3 separate regions of the Homo sapiens genome follow, and all the other regions are linked to region 1. Evidence: promoter capture Hi-C in 16 types of primary human blood cells and fetal thymus (Javierre and others, 2016). All regions are on one chromosome and are shown on one strand. Each heading gives the region's core, a stretch centred on a gene start or on the middle of the fragment in contact. The rest is flanking DNA. Distances are from core to core; before and after follow the strand shown. Region 1 holds the start of NUDT7 (nudix hydrolase 7). Region 2 holds the start of TERF2IP (TERF2 interacting protein). Region 3 overlaps DYNLRB2-AS1 (DYNLRB2 antisense RNA 1).

Region 1 (3,698 bases), core at 1,199-3,698:
TGGATACTATAAATATCACAGCGATGTTTGCTTAATATCACGGTGTGTAAACACTGTATATTACAAATATCACAGCCATATTTTATTAATATCACGGTGTGTACACACTGGATATTATAAATATCATATTGATATTTCATTGAGGTCATGGTGTGTAAACACTGGATGTTGTAAATATCTGTGATATTTCATTGATGTTATGGTGCATCAACACTTGATATTACAAATATCACAGAGACATTTCATTGATATCACAGTGTGGAAACACTGGGTATTATAAATATCACAGCGATATTATATTAATATCACGGTGTGTAAACATTGTATATTACAAATATCAGCCATATTTTATTAATATCACAGTGTGTAAACACTGGATATTATAAATATCACATCGATATTTCATTGATGTCACGGTGTGTAAACACTGGATGTTGTAAATATCACAGCGATATTTCATTAATATTTCATTTCATTAATAATTTCACAAACTGCCCCACTGACCTAGGGCCAGCCACAATATTACTTTCATGGGCCCTAGCTACTTTGTTTTTGTGCACCCCTTCTTCCATAAAATAATTTTAAAGTGAATATTTTATGACTGAATTCATAAAATGACTATCATCCAAGCTGGATTCATTATTATATATTGCTTTTATTACATACCTTTTCTTCTTCTAATTTAAAAAGAAATTACAATTAAAACATTTTCACAGGTCCCTAAAATTACTGTGTGTGTCCTGTGCCTGTAAGGGAGAAGTCAGCCCTACACTGACCCCTGGATTCTCAGCTCGCACCAGGCTCCCTCACACACACTGTTCTCCAGCCCCTTTCTGCTGTCTTTGCACAAACTTTGCCCTCTTCCTTGAACACTCTCCCTTGCCTTTTTCCTCATTTATGTCCTCTATCCCGCACAGAGCATCAGAATCCCCTTACAGCACAGATCACTGGGCCTGACACCTGGCTTCTGATTCAGCAGTTGTGACATGGGCCCCAAAGTCCACCTTTTCTTTTCTTTTCTTTTCTTTTCGTCTTTTTTCTTTTCTTTTCTTTTCTCTTTTCTTTCTTTCCTTTCTTTCTTTCTTGGTTTTTGTTGTTGTTGTTGTTGTTGTTTTGTTTTGTTTTGTTTTTGAGACAGAGTTTCGCTTTTTTTTGCCCAGGCTGGAGTGCAATGGCGCGATCTCGGCCCACTGCAAACTCCGCCTCCCAGGTTCAAGCGATTCTCCTGCCTCAGCCTCCTAGTAGCTGAGATTACAGGCGCCTGCCACTGGCTAATTTTTGTTTTTTTAGTAGAGATGGGGTTTCACCATGTTGGCCAAGCTGGTCTCAAACTCCTGACCTTAGGTGATCCACCCGACTTGGCCTCCCAAAGTGCTGGGATTACAGGTGTGAGCCACAGCGCCTGGCCCAGAGTCCACATTTTTAACAGGACCAAAGTGATCCTGATTCTGCTGGTCTGAGGACCACACTTTGAGAACTACTGCTTTCAAGATGAGCTGCACTTCTATTTCCTCTACCAAGCCTCTTCTGTCTCCTAATTGGGTCACATTTCTCCTTCACACGCTCTAGAAGGACCAAAGGCCACTGCTTTATCAGTGTGATTTTTTTTTTTTTTTTTTTTTGCATTAAAAACTTCTTATCTTCTTCTTCTTATTTTTGAGACGGTCTACCTCTGTCAGGCTGGAGTGCAGTGGTGCTATCACGGCTCACTGCAGCTTCGACCTCCTGGGCTCAAGCGATCCTCCCACCTCAGCCTCTTGAGTAGCTGGGACCACAGGTGTGTGCCACCACGCCTGGCTAATTTTTTATTTTTATTTTGTAGAGATGGGGTTTCGCCATGTTGCCCAGGCTGGGCTCGAACTCCTGGATTCAAGTGATCCTCCCCTCTTGGCCTCCCAAAGTGTTGGAATTACAAGCATATGCCACTGCATCCAGCCCTGTGTGATTAATTTATGTTTCTACCATTTGACTGTGAGCTCCACGTGTCTTTTCGCTAGCTGTGGGATCTGCACCCAGTGCATACAGGTGGTCGGTGAACAGGTGCTGACAGCAGTTCCAAAAAGTTGAATGAATCACCTTAACCTTCCAGCAACAGCGAATGCGAGTGTAAAATATTATCACCTCACCAACACTGTATTTTTTTTTTTTTTAACTCTTCCAGCTCTAAATTCCACAACTCCTCCTATACCTCTTGCTTCCATAGAAGCCCAAGGAGCCCGGCAGAAACTGCTTTGAGCAACCAGGAACACCCGGCCCTAAGTCCCGCCCCGCGCCTCTCCCCACCTCAAGTCCCGCCTCTGGCTATAAGCCCCGCCCCGCCCCGATCCCGGCCTCCGATCCCAGATCTCGCACCGCCCCGCCCCCTGTCTCCGCCCCAGACACCACCCCGCCTCGTGCTCTAAGCCCCGCCCCTCTCTCTGGCTTTAGGCCGCTCCCAAGCCCAGAGCTGCTCTGCGCAAGCGCGACCGACCGAGCAGCTCCGAGGAGTCCGCCCGGAAACAAACATTCCCCAGGGCAATGTCACGACTTGGTCTTCCCGAGGAGCCAGTCAGGTAAAGGCTTTCCGGGCCCTGGCACCCCGAGCTTGGTCAGGCCCGGCCTTGATCGTAGCGGAGGCCACCGGGGCCTTTTGGCCGGGACTGATTTTGCAGCTCCCGCCAGTCCACCTGCGAGCGCCGGATGGGGGAGCACTCGCCTCCAGCAACCCGCAGGGTCCCCGAACCTTTGCACTGCTCTGGCCAGGAACAGAGCCGGCTTAAGCCAGTATGGTTTACATACACGCTGCTCCCCTTCCCAGCCGGCTTGGCTGTTCTGCAATCCGCGTCTCCAGAGTTGGACCCCAGGACCCCCGACAGTGGCACAGACCCGCAGCAGGCAGCCCCGGATTCAAGTCCCCCGGTGGCTACTTTCAGTTGTGACCTTGGGTCTGTCAGTTTCGTAAACTCTCTGAGCCTGGAGGTGACCCTGTGATCACTTGCCGGGCTGTTGTGAGGATAAAATGAGAAACGTCAAAATTGAGACCATGCTCAGAACGGGGTGGCTGCTACTGCTGTTGATACCTTGGTGATTATTCCAGCGGCCAGCCCCTAAAGTGGACAGATAACGTTTTTGCAGCCTTTTACTTTGGCTGGTTTGTCTGGTCAGTTCTGTGGTTTCCGGGTGGTTAAAAGCCACCAGCCCACAGTTTCCTTTTCTGGAGGCTGGCCTGCGTGCATCCAGATGCACTGTGCAATCCCTGTGCCAGCATTCACTGATTTTTTTCAGGCCATTTGGTCTTTGAAATACACTGCCGTTACCCAACCACATCTGGTGAGCACCCTGCCACCTAGAAAGAGGCAAAAAATAGCAAATACCTCCTGCAAACAACTGCTTATCTAATGATGGGGAGATTTATGACAGTGGTTACCATTCCCTGAGCACCAGCTGTGTGCCAGCCACAGTATATGAACTGCATCATTTAATCTTCTTAAATATCCTCAAGCCTGACACAAATGAAGATGAAACTCAGAGAAGTCATTTGTATACACTTTTTTTTTTTTTTTTTTGAGACAGAGTCTCACTCTGCCGCCCTGGCTACAGTGCAGTAGGCAATCTCGGCTCACTGCAGCCTCTGCCTCCTGGGTTCAAGCGATTCTCCTGCCTCAACCTTCTGAGTAGCTGGGATTACAGGCATGTGCCACGATGCCCGGCTAATTTTT
Region 2 (4,131 bases), core at 511-3,010, 2.1 Mb before region 1:
CTTTAGGATCGTATATCACAGATATACCACATTCAATTAAATTTGACTTAATAAAGTCAAGTCAATTTTCTCTAAGGTAGCAGTCCAAAGACCAGGTTCCAAACTTTTATGGAAGTCCATCGGATTGCTCTAATAAAGGACAATATATTAAGGTCCTACCCAACTATAAACTTCGACAATTTCTCTTATACTTTTTCTAAGATATTTGAAGCACAAAGCCAGGGACACAAAAGGAAACATCAGGCCAGGGGTGGTGGCTCAGGCTCACGCCTGTCATCCCAGCACTTTGGGAGGCCAAGGTGGGCGGATCACAAGGTAACGAGATTGAGACCATCCTGCCCAACATGGTGAAACCCTGTCTCTACTAAAAATACAAAAATTGGCCAGCCATGGTGGCACACGCCTGTAATCCCAGCTACTCGGGAGGCTGAGGCAGGAGAATCGCTTGAACCCTGGCAGCGAAGGTTGCAGTGAGCTGAGATCGCGCCACTGCACTCCAGCCTGGCGACAGAGCGAGACTCCATCTTAAAAAAAAAAAAAAAGAAACATCATTTCTCTTTTCTTTTTCATTCAGGGTCTGGCTCCGTCTCAGTAACTCCTTGGGGAAAGCGATGGAGAAGGGCTCGCTCACGCAGCACTTCTGGCAGTCCCTGAAGGACCACTACCTCAAGTCTCCCAGGCTGGAGTGCAGTGGCACGACTTCAGCACACTGCAACCTCCGCCTCCTGGGTTAAAGCGATTCTCCTGCCTCAGTCTCCCGAGTAGCTGGGATAACAAGTGCGCGCCACGGGGATTAAGCCCTCTCGTATGCCTCTGGAATGGTACTATGTACCATCTTCCTAGCAATGATAAAACACTCAATTACCTGTGTTCTGTGGTTCAAATGGGGAACGCTAATGAGAATATAAGACAGCCAGTTAAAGGGTGGCTAATCCTGACTTATCTATGTTAACCTACATACTCCAGGGATTTGGGAGTGGTTAACAAAGATATCAGGCTGAATTAAGATGGTCTCTACTGTTAGACGTTGATCACTTAATACTCACAGGTATCTACTGAATAACCCATACGGGTAGATGCATGACAGTTTTAGAACTGATCCCTTTTAATACATAACGTTCAGAATGACCTTAGTGAGGCCCAGAAAATTTTGAAGGTCTTTCTGAAAAGCTAGGGTATTTAACATTTCTCCAACTTCCACGTTTACTGAGTGGCTCAACAAAAGAATGCATTTCTCAGAAAGGAGGATGAAGCTAAGCAGGAAGTTTCGCTTTTCTTTTCTGATAACTCTTAGTTCTCGTCCTAGTTCCTCCTCCACAGTCTCTTAACTCTAGGAGTATGATAGGGAGCATCCCGCCGGTGCCAGCTGGGAACGGGGAGCCGGCGTGCCCGGGGTATCCCGGGGTACGTGGTCTGCAGGGCGCAGCCACCACGTCTCAGCATGTGCGTACCCACGAGAGCCGGCAAGAAGGCCCCGGCACAGCAGCCTTGGTGGGAACCTCGCGGCGCTTCCCAGCCCAGACTCTCCTACCGCAAAGGCTTTAAAGACTCGCAGCGACACTCACTTCTTGCTCAGTTTCGGCTCGCTGCCATCCACTTTCACCTCGGCCGCCTGCACGGCCGCCATCTTCCCGGAGGGCCCGACCCAAAAGTAAGGAGGATAGTACGTTAATTTCCAGGTCAAGGTGCGAAGCCCCACCTCTTCCGGGGGAGAGGGGGCGGGCACTCTCGATGCGCCGCGGCTGCTGCTGCGCAGGCCCAGTGCTGCGCTTCGCGGCAGAGGCGTCTGCGGTGACAGCTCAGTCAGTTGAGCTCTGTGTGCCAGGCGCTCGCGAGGGGGTAGCTCTTCTAGTAGTGCTCGGCGTCAGACATGGCGGAGGCGATGGATTTGGGCAAAGACCCCAACGGGCCCACCCATTCCTCGACTCTGTTCGTGAGGGACGACGGCAGCTCCATGTCCTTCTACGTGCGGCCCAGCCCGGCCAAGCGTCGGCTGTCGACGCTCATCCTGCACGGCGGCGGCACCGTGTGCCGAGTGCAGGAGCCCGGGGCCGTGCTGCTGGCCCAGCCCGGGGAGGCGCTGGCCGAGGCCTCGGGTGATTTCATCTCCACGCAGTACATCCTGGACTGCGTGGAGCGCAACGAGAGGCTGGAGCTGGAGGCCTATCGGCTGGGCCCCGCCTCGGCGGCGGACACCGGCTCGGAAGCAAAGCCCGGGGCCCTGGCCGAGGGCGCCGCGGAGCCGGAGCCGCAGCGGCACGCCGGGCGGATCGCCTTCACGGATGCGGACGACGTAGCCATCCTTACCTACGTGAAGGAAAATGCCCGCTCGCCCAGCTCCGTCACCGGTAACGCCTTGTGGAAAGCGATGGAGAAGAGCTCGCTCACGCAGCACTCGTGGCAGTCCCTGAAGGACCGCTACCTCAAGCACCTGCGGGGCCAGGAGCATAAGTACCTGCTGGGGGACGCGCCGGTGAGCCCCTCCTCCCAGAAGCTCAAGCGGAAGGCGGAGGAGGACCCGGAGGCCGCGGATAGCGGGGGTGAGGAGGCTGAGCGCGGGGCCTCGCGGATATCTGCGCGGGTGGGGTTGGGATCTTTCTCCTGGCTGCCTGGCGTCCATCTTGGCATCTTCGGTAGCAGCGCTTGGCCCCGCCCCCTGTTGACATCCGGGTAAATTTGCACCATTTTCTTGCCTTCTCGCTCCCTTGTTGTTTATTATTGTTCTTTTTTTGCGATGGGTCTCTGTTACCTAAGCTGGTCTGAACTCCTGAGCTCAAGCGATCCTCCTGCCTCGGCCACCCAAAGTGTTGGGATTACAGGAGTGAGCCACCACGTCTGGCCTCTCGTCGTTTTTATTTTTTAATTTTTGAGTGGGGGCTCGCTCCGTCGCCCAGGCTGTGATGCAGCCGCGCGATCACGACCTACTGCATCCTGGACCTCCTGGGCTCAAGCGAATCTCCGGCTTCAGCCTCCCAAGTAGCTGGAACTACACTCCCGCGCCACCACGTCCCGCTAAATTAAAAAAAAAATTGTTGTAGAGATGGGGGTCTCGTTGTGTTGCCCTGACAGGTCTCGAACTCTTGGGCTCAAGCGATCCTCCCGTCTCGGTGTCCCAAAGTGTTGGGATTACAGGCGTGAGCCATCACACCCAGCTTCTTGGTCTAGTTTTAATTTACTTTACCATTGACTAGAATATTGACATGGTTCTATATTCAAAAGTTACAAAAAGTATATAGAAAATTCTCTCTTGGCCGGGCGCGGCGGCTCAAGCTTGTAATCCCAGCACTTTGGGAGGCCGAGGCGGGCGGATCACCTGAGGTAAGGAGATCGAGACGAGCCTGACCAACATGGCGAAATGCCGCCCCTACTAAAAATACAAAAATTAGCCGGCCGTGGCGGAGAGTTCCTGTAGTCCCAGCTACTCAGGAGGCTGAGGCAGGAGAATTGCTTGAACCCGGGGGGCGGAGGTTGCAGTGAGCCGAGACTGCGCCACTGCTCTCCAGCGTGGGTGACAGAGCAAGACTCCATCTCAAAAAAAAAAAAAAATTATCTCGTCCTTCCTGTCCACCAGCTACCCACGGGCTAACTGGCTTCTTGTGTTTCTTTTAAGAGATATTCCACAGACTCCTTTTTAAAAAAGATTGCTGTTATGTTCAGGTAGATTCAGTATAAAGGCGTACCAGACTTACTTTAATGCTCTGGCGTAACTGAATGCCTATGGACTTAAGAAGGTTCTCGGCAGTTGGAAGGTCTCTTCCTGGTCTTGCTTAGGTGAAGTGAGTTTTTAATGCAGTTGAATTGAAAATTGGGGTTCAGTATGTCTAGGATACAGAACGAGTCTGTTAAGATGTACTTGGTGACGTACCTGGCATTGATAACTTAAACCGATAGACCCTTTTGTTTAAAGAGGCATGCTGCTTCTCCTCCCCCTCCGTAATCCTCCCACCTTTTCTTTGCCTGTATGACTACTCCATTTAACACTTGAAGTCTGGGGAGTAAAATCTTTTTCTCCTGTTCAGTATGCTTAGTAGGAATTTTGTTTTGGTAAAAGTGACATTTCAGCTTCATTCATTCAGCAGAAATTTGAGTGCCAGACATTGTGGTCCTGCTGGAATATAACAATAAATAAAA
Region 3 (4,007 bases), core at 395-2,894, 2.8 Mb after region 1:
CCTCAGCTCAAATCACATTTTCCTACCTTCTCCCTTGCCAGTTCTGCCACTTTTTCATTAGCTAATCCCAATTAAAACACTTTGTTACTAACACCATAAATCTCTGCCACTCTCAATAAGCATAAATTATATGGCAAATAACTATATTATATGTCTATCCAGAAAAATAACACCTCCCACCTCCCTCCTGTTTTTTGCCATCTTGGGACTCAGAGCTTCTAAGTCAACACTCACGCTTTTTAATTTGGGTCCCCTGCCCCCTCTAATTACTTACCTATAAAGCTACACTTTTTTAAGGAAGAAAATTATCACCAATGCCCTTCTCTAAACTTAATCATTAACTGCGCTTTTTCTTCCTGTTTGTGAACAATTTGAGGTAGTAGGAAAGGCTTGGTCATTATATTTACAGCTAACTCTGCCATTTATCAATGGAATGACCTGGAACAGCCATCCTGGCTCACACCTAGGCCTGAATCATAAACTGAGGAGACCGACCTCACGGGATTTTGTTTCAAAATTAATTAAGGCACATGTAGACTGTGTTTAGCACAGTGCCTGGCACAAAATGTGGGCTCATGTTGTCTAAAGCGAAGTGGTGATTTTGTTTGCTTCTCCCATGGTCAGCAATTGCTTAACACAACATTTCATATATTAAACTAACAAAAAGAAACATACCTCATCCTGTGATTGATTTTCAAGCTCATTTATTCCTCATTTCTCTGTGGTTTAATTTAATTAAATTGAGCAGCCCATCAAATATTGATTTTAATAAAATCTTGATTAAGATTTGAGCAATTATCAAACGCTCTTTTTCATACCATTCTTGCATTTCAATAGAACCAACCTCAAAAACCAATTTGCTTTTAAAATAAAGAAGTGATTTTATAGATATTCTTCAGGCCATTTTCAGAAATAAAGAAAAAATGGCCTCCCGTTGTTGTTATTAGCCGAGATAAGCAGCAATGTCTGACCAGCGTTTTAAAAAACTTAATCCAGTAGTTATCTCATCCTCAATGAATAGTAGAAAGGGAAACTCAAAAAAGAATTAAGTCCTTTAATAAACATTAATTTGGCTCCTACTGTGTACGAAGTACTATTTTACCCAATGCAAGTAGAGGTAAGGAAAAGCTAATTATGTAGTTAGTTTTAATGTATGTGGAAAAATTCAGCCACACGTGAAAGTTTTTGACTTTATTAATTAATAACCAGAGACCTACATTTATTCCAACCCTTAAAATTACTCTGTTGTGCAATTTATGAATATAGGCTCATTATTAGGAGAATCTAATGTAAATGTGATGGTATAAATTATCAATAGTATTATATTAGCAATTAACCATAAGTGTAAGAGATTTAATAAGTTAAATATTTGGTTTGATAGTTAAGCGCTAAAAAGAAACGGTAAAGCCAATAGCTGTCACAGCAGCACCACCTAGAGGCCTGTGAGGAGTAACACAGGTCATTTCCCCAAACTTGCCTTCTTACTTAGAGACAAAGAGCAGTAGCTACTCCATTTCAGCACCTTCTGTCACCGAAAGCATTTTAATTCTATTCAGCATATTCTTAAATCTTGAAATATTTACAAAATAGCTAAATGAAATTGAATAACCTCAAAATCACAATGTAGTTTGGCAAAAGATGTCAATTTTCCCCCTGGCATAGGAGATGAAACTGGGCAACTACGGGAGCAGCCCAGGTCTTGGGACATTACAACGTGAGACACAGGCATCCTCTCTCTAACACACACCTCCTTATTCTGTCTTGATCCCAAACACATGAGTGCCCAGGCCGACTGCACATTTGATAGCACTTCAGAGTTATGTTCCTGAGCTACTGCCCAAAGTGTAGTTAGAGATGTTGAGAAGAAATTAACTTTCCATTGTTAACATTGTTTATATCAGAAGATCCACTTACTAGTTCCCTTCCACTAGCCAAAGCTGAACTAATGTTCTGGAGATGGAATTGAAAGAGAAATGACAAAACATTTTTCTTTTTTATTATTTCCCATCCTTTCTTCTGTTATCTTTTATAATTTTTCTCAACCTCTCAACCTGAAAACTTCCTTGGATTAAAATTTAGATAATAAAACAAATCAGCTCTTCATAGAAATGAAAACACTCCTTATATTATTTGGTTTCAGAATTTCAGCAGACTTTGCTGACCATCAGCTGACTGCAGCTTCACAGGGGAATGGCAAAAACAAAAACAAAAACAAAACATAACAAAACAAAACAGCACATTTACTGCATATACAAATTGGGGCTAATGAGGCACAAAGTACCGCTCATCTTCATTTCCACTTGAGGGCGCTGTCTGCCTCAGTGAGGCGGGGGTGCTGAGTCAGTATTTTGCCAGTCAGTGCAGCAAATGCAGAAGTCTGCCTTAACCTGTACTTTCTGGCCTCCATATATGAAGCTGGGGTTCCTACCTGAGCACACTAGTAAAGGAAAGGCGGCAGGTCCATTCATGCGCATGCTCTGAATTTCAGGTAAGGCACTTGAGCACAGTTTACCAAAATAATACTAGGTTTTGCCTAGAGAAGTTTTTTCCCCAATCTGTATGCTAAAGTCATAGCTGAAGTCACATCAAACTGCAGTAACTTTAGTTTTTTGAAACATCAGACTTTTCTTGCACCTGCTTTTCCCTCTGTTCCACCCCTACACCTACTGACCTAACTAGTGTCCGAGCCTCCTTTGGATCTCAGCTTAGATAGCACCAGTCCAGGATTCCTTCTAGGATCACCTCATGCTGGGTTAGGATGACCTTCTACGTGCACCATTTGCAACCTAAACTTCTCCCACTGGGAAACTTTGTGTGCAGTTTTGCAACTGTTTGTTCATTAACCATATCCCCCACAAGACTGTAGGCACCGTGCAAGCAAGGGATATTTTTATCTTATTTATGGTTGTATTCCCTTCACCCCCACGATTCTGCCTCAAATATTCCATCAATATTGTTGAAGGAGGCCGGGCGCGGTGGCTCACACCTGTAATCCCAGCACTTTGGGAGGCCGAGACAGGGGGATCACGAGGTCAGGAGATCAAGACCATCCTGCCTAACACGGTGAAACCCCATCTCTACTAAAAATACAAAAAATTAGCCTGGCATGGTGGGGGGCGCCCGTAGTCCCAGCTACTCGGGAGGCTGAGGCAGGAGAATGGCATGAATCCGGGAGGCGGAGGTTGCAGTGAGCCGAGATCATGCCACTGCACTCCGGACTGGGAAACAGAGCGAGACTCCATCTCAAAAAAAAAAAAAAAAAAAAAAAAAAAAAAATATATATATATATATATATATATATATATATATATATATATATTTATATAGTAGAAGGAATGACTGTCCCATATAAGTCTGCTTTATCTTGGGAGGGACTCTAATGTTCTATTCATAGTCTCCATTTATTTGCCTTCCAAGCATGTGCCTCAGCATCCACCATTTTGCTTCCACTCTTACCTTGTTCTTTTAAGATCCAAAGCGGTCAGAAGAAGTGATCAAGATTCAACAAGCTAAGCTGTCTCCTGATGGTCAAGGCATTCTCTTCACCATGTCCAGGCTCCTTACAGGATCCACAGACAACTCATTCCAATTTCTGAGTCAGCTGCAAGAGAAGAAGTCAACCAAATAGATTTACAAAAGGGATCGGATCATGCTGGAATGTCTGGTGTGACATTACAAGGCAGCATCCTCCCTGGGAAGGAGATGTAACTCCTTCCTTTTGCCAGTCAGGTAACAATGTCCTCTTCTCTCTTGTATGCAGTTGGCAGAACAACACAGAAGGAGGACAAGGGAGCTCAGCCTTGTTTCTTGCTCGGCCACTTATCGTGTCCATGACAGGCTATATTTTGGAATGAGAATAGCATAGAGCCATCTAGATAACTTGGAGGATATACAACAGGCACTCCAAGACAGAAGCAGAACTATCATGGAGAAAGTTCCAGAATGGGGTGAAATGAGATTTACCACTCTGGATCCTTATTCCATCATTTGGTTTCTTTGCCTCAGAC

What was found. The method cuts DNA at HindIII sites, captures the fragments that hold promoters and counts their contacts. A CHiCAGO score of 5 or more calls a contact.
Region 2: the fragment with the promoter of TERF2IP here is called in contact with the fragment with the promoter of NUDT7 in region 1 in 1 of 17 cell types (M0 macrophages); the score reaches 5.5 in M0 macrophages.
Region 3: a contact is called between a fragment that was not itself captured here and the fragment with the promoter of NUDT7 in region 1, in 1 of 17 cell types (total CD4 T cells). The highest score is 7.9, in total CD4 T cells.

The regions. Positions count from the first base shown.
Region 1 is chr16:77,720,066-77,723,763 of GRCh38, forward strand. NUDT7 (nudix hydrolase 7) reads left to right here and starts at 2,449. Exons shown (of 4, transcript NM_001105663.3): 1 at 2,449-2,552. The coding sequence starts at 2,518. RefSeq lists an enhancer at 2,287-2,581 and a silencer at 2,295-2,424. The HindIII fragment of the contact is 15,416 bases long and covers 1-3,698 here.
Region 2 is chr16:75,646,013-75,650,143 of GRCh38, forward strand. It overlaps TERF2IP (TERF2 interacting protein), which reads left to right and starts at 1,761. Exons shown (of 3, transcript NM_018975.4): 1 at 1,761-2,540. The coding sequence starts at 1,871. KARS1 (lysyl-tRNA synthetase 1) reads right to left here and starts at 1,653. Exons shown (of 14, transcript NM_005548.3): 1 at 1,566-1,653. The coding sequence starts at 1,627. RefSeq lists enhancers at 1,506-1,685, 1,725-2,682, 2,616-2,885, 2,683-3,638 and a silencer at 2,186-2,305. The HindIII fragment of the contact is 3,802 bases long and covers 1-3,268 here.
Region 3 is chr16:80,525,186-80,529,192 of GRCh38, forward strand. It overlaps DYNLRB2-AS1 (DYNLRB2 antisense RNA 1), which reads right to left. Exons shown (of 6, transcript NR_120307.1): 2 at 3,457-3,601. Among named protein-coding and RNA genes, the nearest start is that of DYNLRB2, 14 kb to the right of the region's middle. RefSeq lists silencers at 2,218-2,267, 2,298-2,387. The HindIII fragment of the contact is 4,771 bases long and covers 1-4,007 here.